2 separate regions of the Homo sapiens genome follow, and region 1 is linked to region 2. The links are contacts of gene promoters, found by promoter capture Hi-C in human tissues and cell types (Jung and others, 2019). All regions are on one chromosome and are shown on one strand. Each heading gives the region's core, a stretch centred on a gene start or on the middle of the fragment in contact. The rest is flanking DNA. Distances are from core to core; before and after follow the strand shown.

The links. The method cuts DNA at HindIII sites, captures the fragments that hold promoters and counts their contacts. A contact is called where the count stands out against the background at its distance.
Region 1: a contact is called between a fragment that was not itself captured here and the fragment with the promoter of ERCC8 in region 2, in 1 of the 25 tissues and cell types used here (dorsolateral prefrontal cortex).

What each region holds. Positions count from the first base shown.
Region 1 is chr5:61,821,908-61,826,624 of GRCh38, forward strand. No RefSeq gene overlaps it. Among named protein-coding and RNA genes, the nearest start is that of LINC03123, 89 kb to the left of the region's middle. The HindIII fragment of the contact is 6,307 bases long and covers 221-4,717 here.
Region 2 is chr5:60,943,032-60,948,173 of GRCh38, forward strand. It overlaps ERCC8 (ERCC excision repair 8, CSA ubiquitin ligase complex subunit), which reads right to left and starts at 2,039. Exons shown (of 12, transcript NM_000082.4): 1 at 1,901-2,039. The coding sequence starts at 1,977. NDUFAF2 (NADH:ubiquinone oxidoreductase complex assembly factor 2) reads left to right here and starts at 2,174. Exons shown (of 4, transcript NM_174889.5): 1 at 2,174-2,351. The coding sequence starts at 2,225. RefSeq lists an enhancer at 2,810-2,939. The HindIII fragment of the contact is 9,089 bases long and covers 1-5,142 here.

The DNA of each region.
Region 1 (4,717 bases), core at 2,124-4,623, 880 kb after region 2:
TATTACATGTCAATTTACAAACTGTAGCTAGTACTATGAAAGACATAGACAGAATATTGTTGTCATAGAGAATTATAGTGAAGGTGGTCAGGGAAGGTGACATGGAGGCTGAGGCCTGAACAATGAACAGGCTAGGCTAGATGAGAAATGTGATCAAGGGGATGCCAGGTGGAAGCAACAGTACGTGCAAAGGCCCCACAGTGGGAGGGGAATATTTCAGAGGCTGGAAGAACAACCAGAGTGTCTCCAGCCTAGTGAGTAAGGAGGAAAGTAGTATGGGATGATGCTGGAGAAGGAGCAGAGTCAGACCACAGCTTTCCTTTTTTTTTTTTTTTTTTTTTTTTTTTTTGAGACAGAGTCTTGCTCTGTTTCCCAGGCTGGAGTGCAGTGGTGCAGTGGCATGATCTCGGTTCACCGCAACCTCCACCTCCCGGGTTCAAGAGATTCTCCTGCCTCAGCCTTCTGAATAGCTGGGATTATAGGCACCCACCAGCATGCCCAGCTAATTTTTTGTATTTTTAGTAGAAATGGGGTTTTGCCATATTGGCCAGGCTTGTCCTGAACTCTTGACCTCAAGTGATCCACCCACCTCGGCCTCCCAAAGTGCTGGGATTACAGGCGTGAACCACAGCACCTAGCCAGACCACATCCTTCTGAGTAAAAAGAGCTGTACTCTACCCTGAGAAGAAGCTTCAGAGGAGTGTTAAGAATAGGAATGACATGATGCAATGCACATGTCTAAGGGACTGGAGCAATCACCCCAAGGAAAGAGAAGGCAGAGCAACACAGAAGGGAGGCAGTGAGAGAGTTAGCAGAGCCACCAGGGCCCACTGTTCTGTCCTTTCACCTGTCCACAACTAGCAGCAGAACACTGGTCGTAGCTCCTCCCCTCCTGACATCCTGCCACCACCCTCTCCTGTGTTTCTCTTTCATCTCCACCCTTGATGCTCCTGCTTCAGAGCTTTCCCCTACAGTAGAATGTGGAGGGACAGTGGCTGGCTCCCCTTCTCTTTTCCTACTCCTCCTGCAAACACACGCGCGCCCCTACACACACACCTCTGTGAGAGTGCACACGCACAGTGATTTCAGATAACTGCATGGGTAGGGATGGCTGTACAGGTGCAAAGAAGCAGGTGGAAGAGCTCTGCCAGGCTAGAGCAAAGCGCGTGGGCCTGAGCTGAGTGAAGCCGGCTGTTAGGTAAGGCAGCGCTAGTTGGTAGTGGGTCTTGAAGCCTGAGACTAGAGGAGTTTTAATATGATTTGGGAGACAACTGGGAGCCTTTATGGGCAAGCAAAGAGGAGAGCGATGTGATCTAAGTGACGCTGGAGGAAGATGATTCTCGATGATGTGTGTCCAATAGAGGAGAGGAGACCCCCAGGCTGCAGGAAGGGGAGCTAATTGGGAGGCAGGAGTCCAGGTGTGAAGTGATTATGGCTCGGACCGGAGCTGTGGGAAGGCTAAGGAAGACAGAAGAAGAAACGGCAGGATTTAATGTTGAACTGAAAGTGCCTCTGGGGTTGTGCTGGGATGGGAGATGTGCTACAATTATGAGGAAATAAGATACTGGGAACTTGTTTAAGAGTAAATGGGAACTAGAAAAGGATTTGGGCCAGCGAGATAGGAAGAACAAAGGTAGGAAGGCAGGGTGCCATTACACGGGAGTTGGTGCTAGAGCCAAGAGAAACATTTAACAGCCCACCCGATACCATGCCTATGGGAAGCTGTTCCTCCCCTCCCCTCTTCTCCCACCTTGGATGGTCACTTTCTTCCATGTTTGTATCTGCTTCTATTCTCATATCAAGCACAAATGTGTGTTGTAATACGTCTTTGTCTGTCTATGCCTGCTACTAATCTGTGAGCTCCCTGAAGACAGAGGCCCTATTTTACTCCCTTTCTACTCCCAGGGCTTAGTTAGCACAGGGACCAGCCCTTGGCTAGCACTCATCACGTTTTGGTGAATGAGGAAATAAATGAATGGAAACTTTCCAGAGGTGTGCCGTTGAACCCCAGCCACCACACAACACTGTAAAACTTACAAATTTTGTGGCAGCTGCAGCATCCCTCAAACACTTGTGCAGATCAGGTTACAGCTGAGAGCCTCACAAAACCCCAGCCATTGCAGCAATTGACAGGTGGTCCTAGATGTAAGACTGGGATTGCCAGACAGGAGGCTGGAGTAGTTAAGATAGTGCTGGGGGGATTTGAGATCAAATTGCAGGGTTGTTTAAACACCTTAGGGTTACAAATGGGTTTTCACCCTTAAAATCCCATTTGCAAATATGTAGCCTTAAACTGTCCAAATAGTTATCTTAATGATGTTAAATCCCTGGGTTGGTAGAGGTCATAAGAAAGGCCTTGCATATTTTCATCCTGTTCCTTTCACTGAAATTACATTTGTGTTACAATGAAATGTGAAAACTGGAAAATACATAAAAACAAACCTTTCCCTACCACATGCTATGCCACCAGCCAATACCAACTAAATTTGCTAAACCTTCTAGATAACTACCATTTATTCAGCTTTTACTATGTGCCAATCACTGGGTTTTATACATCTTATAGTATAGCATTTAATATTCATAAGTGCATGAGATAGTCACTATTGCTCCCATTTTATAGATGAGCAATCTGAGGCTTAGGGAAGTTAAATTACTTGCCTACTGGGTGTGTGATATCATGAGCTCATCATTTGGTTGTGCAACCTTCCAGCTGACAACAAGAGAGACAAGCCTGGGAAGGACTGAGAGGCACGGCTGCAAAGATAGCTGGGAATTTGTCAGGAAATGATCACTAATGGGAACCATTGAGCAGCGCAGTCCTCCCAGAGAGCACGTGCAGAGGGAGAGAGAGTGCTCCAGACCGCAATTTAGAGTAGGACCCTGGGGAACACCTTGGGAAATAGAAGAGAAGACAGCATGGGGCCAAATGACTTTTCCAAGGAACAGTTGGGAGGTCCACTCGAAGATCACAAGAGTCCCTCTGCAGCCTCAGCACACTGGTAGCAGGGCCCCTAGCTTCTGCCTCTATTTCTTCCCACCTATCCTTTTCCTATCCATTCTATCCCAATGTATAAATGATTAGATTGGATGACAACAGTATTTTCAATTCTATCCATGGAAAGCAGCTTGTGATTTTAAAGGGAACATGGACTTTGGTGTTTGCTATACTTGGATTCAGATCCTAGCTCCATTCCTTGCTGGCAGTGTGGCCTTGGGGAGATACTCAGTCTTTTTGAAACTGCTTCCTTACTTACATCATGAGGTTAATGAACCTGCCTCACTAGCTTTACATTTGACAAGGGGATTTGTTAACAAATGTGAGGACTTCTGTTTTCAGAAATATGGCAGGCTAGATGTGCAGAAGCTGCTCCCGAGAAGTGACTCCCTAAGATCCTAGATGAAATGTAATAAGTACTTTTTAAAAGCATGGCTATTCTGGCAATAAAGTAAATAATTGAAGGTCAGAAGTGACAAAAAAGGAGAATTCCAAGAGATAAGCTAGTGATGAGTAACAAATTATCCTAAAACTTAGTCTATTAAAATGATAAACATTTATTATCTCCTAGTTTCTGTGGGTTGGAAATTTGGGAGCTGTTTGGTTGGGTGGTTTTGGCTCAGAGGCTGCAGTCAAGATATTGGCCATGGCTAAGATCATCTGAAGGCTTTCTGGGGCTGGAAGATGTGCTTCCCAGATGGCACACTCACATGGCTTTTGGCAGGAGGCCTCAGATCCATGCCAAGGTGCCTCTCTATAGAGCTGATTGAGTGTCCTGACACTTTAGTAACTGGCTTCCCCCAGGATAAGCAATCCAAGGAGAGCAAGGAGAAGGCCCATAGTGTCTTGAAAGTTGCGTACCATGACTTCCACTATTTTCTATTCATTAGAAACAAGTCATCAAGTTCAGCTCACACTCTAGGGGAGTGGAATTTAGTTTCCACTTTTTGAAGGGAGAAGTACTGGAGAATATGTAGATATATTTTAAAACCAGTACAGCTAACATTTTTCCCAAATCCAAGAATTATCCTGGTGGCCTAGAGTCACATTCAGAGGGGACTAGAGACAAAGCCTGGGGCTCTGAATAAAACATCACCCTTGAAGGGTTACACCCTCAGTAGGATAACCTGCCTCACAGAGCAACATTTGTCTGCCTGAACCTTTGCTTGGGGGATTCGGACACACATTTATGCTATCTCAATGGCCTAAAAACCCCAAATTAACCATGTGGTTAAAAATAACTCCAGGTTGATGAGGCCTCTCTTTGAAGAACACGGTGCTCAAAAAATTATTATAAATAAAATTTCAGGGAATATGAGATGATGAACAAAAATTGCTAAAAACATGATAAAATGAGCAACATGAACAAGAGACAACAAAACAAGAAAAGACAGGCTACCTCCACAGGAACCATGATCAAATTGGCTGCCGACTTCTCAGGATCAACCCTGGAAACCAGCTGACGATGTTACAATAAATGTAGAAGTGTTTATTTCAGATGTTCTTTAGTTGGAGCTTGGAGAAAGGCTGGAGTAAGTACAGTCAATCTAGAATCTGGACTCTAAATGAAAGCATAACGGGACTTCAGAAAAGTGTAAAATATGAAGGGATATAGCAGTGAAGGTGGTAAAAGGTCATTTATTTGCCTTCCAAGAAGCCAATGAAGCCCCAAGAATGGCACAAAAAGAGCAAAACTGCACTTTCTTTTGCCATTTTGATGGC
Region 2 (5,142 bases), core at 789-3,288:
AGGCAAAGGCAGGAGGATCACTTCAGCCCAGGAGTTCAAGACCAGAATGGGAAACATAGGGAGACCCCATCTCTACGAAAAATTTAAAAATTAGCTAGGTGTGTGGGCACATGTCTGTGGTCCCAGCTACTTAGGAGGATGAGATGGGAGGATCATTTGAGCCTGGAAAGTCGAGGCTGCAGTGAGCTGTAACTGCACCACTGCATTCCAGCCTGGGTGACAGAGCAAGACCCTGCCTCAAAAAAAAAATATTTTTTTAATTTTTAAATACTTTATTTGTCTTAAACGTATAAGCAATCCTCACTTGGCACAGTCTGATATGAATTTCAGTTACCACAGTTTATTAACCGTGAGAAATAGCATAAAAGTTTGCTACTAGCTTTTCAGTTCACAAATCATTACATAAATAACATATGAATCAAAATTGACCAATTTGCAATTTTACTTCTTTCAAAGTCTATGGGTGATTGGTCACTGTGCATCTGTTATTCAGTTCACACACAGGCTGCAAAGCATGGAGGTTTGTTATTAATATTTCTGTGCCCTTGAGATAAACCCACATGGAATTTTACAGATTAAAAGAGGAAATTGGCCAAAAGAATGAAAGTGCACTAAAGAAGAGTGATAATACTAGAAGTGAAACTTGCATTAAACATAAATGGAGCAAATGAAAAAAAAGCTGCCTGTGGGAACATGCTGATTGTGGCAACAATGACACTGCCGCCATTTGAGACATTCTAGATATGCAGACTGAGGAAATCAGTGAAGGTGAACTTATAGACATAAATGAGGAAAAGTGATTGTGATGAAAGGCTGATGATGTGTCAGAGGAAGTGACACTGGCAAAAAAAACACATTAAAGGAACTCTCAGAGATATTTCACAACATTGAAAACGTAATGGATAAAATGTTGGAAACTAATATTTAAATTTCTCCAGAACGCAGAACTCATAAGCAACTGTGTTCTCCAAGTAAATATCTTCACAGGTTCCTCAATTAATGTGGGCAAAATTAAAAGTACAACTTGCTTCTTCCCTTTGGAAAACCCTCTCTCAGAGTATATTACCAACATTCAACTTCTTATACAAGGCATAGATCTGGGAATCATTATTCATTCTTCTCTTTTTGTCATTCACGTATCCACTCAATTTCCATGGCCTGTTGATTCTATTTCTCAGACGTTGTTCAAATCTCTCCACTATCTTTATTCTACTTGGCAACTCTGTGGCCCAGGCTTCCAACAACTCTCTCCCGGACAAGTGTAATCACAACAGTTACCTAACTTGGCTCCCACTCTTGTTCTCAGTTGCAACCCATTCTCCAAGCAGAAAACAAAATGCAATAGCTGTTACCTTATTCTCATCTTCACACCTCTACTCAAGTACACAAGGCTCTTCCTCATCTAGTTTCTGTCTACTTCATCTCTTGTCAATGGTCCCTACCCCAATTCTCCGCTCTAGTCATTCTGAACTTTGTTCAATTCCTGGCCTGTGTCCTCTGCCTTTAATAGGCTGCCTGGCACACTGTAGGAATTCACTAAATATGCAGACTGAATGAATGAACGAGTCCGTGGAGGGCAGTTATTCTTTGGAGTAACTTAAGAGAGAAGGAATACAGTACAACGAAGTATTCTTATTTAGGTTTATAGTGTCTTCACCTGAGCCCGCGGGGGAACCCCCCCCCCACCCCCGGGGAACCCCCCCCACCCCCGCCGCCCCCCGCCTGCAAGTTGTTACCAGTAAATAAAAGGGATCCTATTTTAGCAAGCCACACAGCATTAGAGGGCAAATAATAGTTTGGTGGCAGGAGAGCGATGAGACGGGAAAGTGTGGGGCAAAGCTTACAGTCATTGGTCCAGATTCTAACTGGCCTGTTAGCCAAAAAGTAAGGTTTTCTTTACCTCCGTGTTGACTCTGCTCTCCGAAGGCGAAGAGGGTCCTCCAAACCCGTTTGGCGTGCGGACAAAAACCCCAGCATATCGTGTCCTCACACCGGCTGGAGCACTGGACGTCGCCATGACAGAGCTCAGGGGCGGGACTGGAACAGCAGAGTCTCCCATTGGTCAGTCGGTGATATATCCGGCCAATGGTGAGCGCCGTTACTAGAAGGGCTCCAGGATGGAGGCCGACCTGACTTCTCCGCCTCGGTGGGCTGGGTCGGCGGCTGGAGCATTACCCCTACTGCGGGTCCCGCTGCTGGCAGCGCTGGAAACTGGGTGGACGGCATGGGTTGGTCTCAGGATTTGTTCCGCGCCTTGTGGAGATCGCTGTCAAGGGAAGTGAAGGAGCACGTGGGCACGGACCAATTCGGGAACAAATACTACTACATCCCGCAGTACAAGAACTGGAGAGGTGAGGTGGCGGCGTGGGCAGCGATTGCGTGGTCAGTGATTGCGAGGTCAGTAAAGGAGGGAAAAGTGAGAGCCCCTAGTCAACTAACGCATCATGCGACACTTAGGGTGTCACCGGAGAGAATTTCCCGAGTTCGTTCTCCCCTGTCGACCCCTTCACTCTGGCATCGGAGCCCTACCCGGCCCGGCTCTGGGCGCCTTGGCCCGGCCTCGTGCGTCCGCGGTCCCTACTACCCAGCGCCTTCCCCCGGCGTGCCCCGGGCTGCTTGCGCTGTTAAGGCGCACCACCACTTTCCTCCCAGCCACGCCTGTAGAGGAGCCTCAGTTTTAGCCCTGGACTGGCGACGGAGGCAGGGAAAAGTCCACGGAAATCTTTCACCAAAGGGGCTAGAAGGGCCAGGGGAGGGGTTTTTCGTACGCTGTTCCCCGCCTTGTGACCCAGAGCTGAGTGGTGTAATTGAAGAGGAGTATCTTCAGCGCCTCGGCTGTCTTCTTTCTTGGTGTTTACCCTTTTCGGTGGCACCCTGGCTCCGGCGCTGGCCCCATGCGCCTTCCTTACTACCAAGACTTGTCAGAAGTAGGTCCATATCCCCACAAGGCTCGCTGATTCCTTTCTCGGGAGTTGACATTCCAAGACCCCGTTGAGCTCAATTTAAGAAACGTGGCAATAATCATGGTGTTACTGTGTAGGATTCGTGCCAAGTAGTTGAGCGGGTTGTTTGGGGAGTAAGGAGGCGTTGCTGTCCATTGAAATCACACTGTGTAGCCGCCGTCGTAACCTCTTCTGTGTTGTTCCATCGCCGCATGCAGAAAATGTCAGGTTTTGGGCGAAGAGGCGTGGGTTAGAATCTCAGCTTTGACACCTGATAGCTCGGGAATCACGGAAAAAGTACTTGTCCTCTCCAAGTCTCAACATCCTCACTTGAAAGTTAGAGATAATATAAGATCAGCAATGTTGAGAAGCACTAAGACCTTTCCAAGATTATGTGCCATTCATTTCCCACACATATAAAATGTATTCTGTGATTTATCACTCAATTAATTTATTTTTGCCTGGCCTTTTTCTGTAACTTATTTTAATATTTAGACTTGTTTCCCTAATGAGCTCCTCTGTCAGGCAGGGAATATGTCTCACAAAAAAAGAAAAAAGCCTGCAAAGAACATAGCATGGTGTTAAGTATTTCTTGACAGGTTGCAAGCAGAGAGATGTTTCTTTTCCATAAGTTGTCAGTAAAATTAAAAATATGCAAACTGTCAGACTGAGTTTTTTTAAATTGAAATATAATTTACATACAGTAACATTCACCCTTTATGGTGTACAGTTTTATTGTTTTTGACAAATGAGTAGAGTAACCTCACTGGATTCAAGTAATAGAATAATTCCATCACCATCAGAATTTCCTCCAACTCCTTAGTAGTTCATTCCCACACCCTTTGGCAACTACTGATGTGTTTTATGGGCCTATAGTTTTGTCTTTTCTAGAATATCATATAAATGGAATTATACAGGATTTAGACTTTTGAGTCTGGCTTGCTTCACATAGCATAATGTAGCTGAGATTCATCCATGTGTCAGTAGTTGTTCCTTTTTATTGCTCAGTAGTATTCCATTGTATGGGTTTGCCAGTTTATCTGTTCACAAGCTGAAGGACATTAGGATGTTTCCAGTTTCTGTGATTGTGACAAAAGCTCTACAAACATTCCCATACAGGATTTGTGTGAACGTAAGTTTTCATATCTCTTGGGTAAATATCTAGTAGTGGGATTACTAAGTTGTGTGATCAATGTGTGTTTAACTTTATGAGAAACTACCAAACTGTTTTTCAAAGTGGCTGTACCATTTTGTATTCCTGCCAGCAATGCATTAAAATTCTAGTTGTTTCCACACCCTCACCAGCACTTAGTATTATCTGATTTTTGGGTGTGTTTTTATTTTTATTTTAGCCATTTTGATAGGTATATAGTGGTATCTCATTGTGATTTTAAGTTTCATTTTCCTAATGCCTGAGGATGTTGACAGTCTTTTCATGTGCTTATTTACTATCTACAGATCTTCGGTGAAGTATTGTTCAAACCTTTTGCCCATTAAAAAATCCATTTATGGCTGGGTCCGGTGGCTCATGCCTGTAATCCCACCACTTTGGGAGGCCGAGGTGGGTGGATCACCTGAGATCAGGAGTTCCAGACCAGCCTGGCCAACATGGTGAAACCCCATCTCTACTAAAAATACAAAAATTAGCTGGGCATGGTGGCACGCGCCTGTAATCCCAGCTAGTCGGGAGGCTAAGGCAGGAAAATCACTTGAACCTGGGAGGCGGATGTTGCAGTGAGCCGAGATCACACCACTGCACTCCAGCCTGGGTGACAGAGTGAGACTCCACCTCAAAAAAAAAAAAAAAAAACAAGCCCAAAAAACAACAAACAAATATATTTATACCAGTTTTTGTATCATTCATTTATATAGAGATACAATACCATTAAAGTTTCAAATTAACAGTCATGTCTATTCTACAATAACATGAATATTTTATTTTTACATATTCTCACTAATTTGTATATTTTCTTACATAATTGTAATTGCATTTTGAGAGTTTTATTGAAGTATAATTGACAAAAAAAATTGCCCATGCTTAAAATGTATAATTTGGTAAGTTTTGACATATGTATATATCTGTGAAACCATCAACACAGTCAAGAAAATTAACATATTCAATATCCACAACAATTTGTTGTGCTCCTTTCTAGTCTTGCCTTATGCTTCTGCTTCCATGGATAGGCACTCATCTGATTTC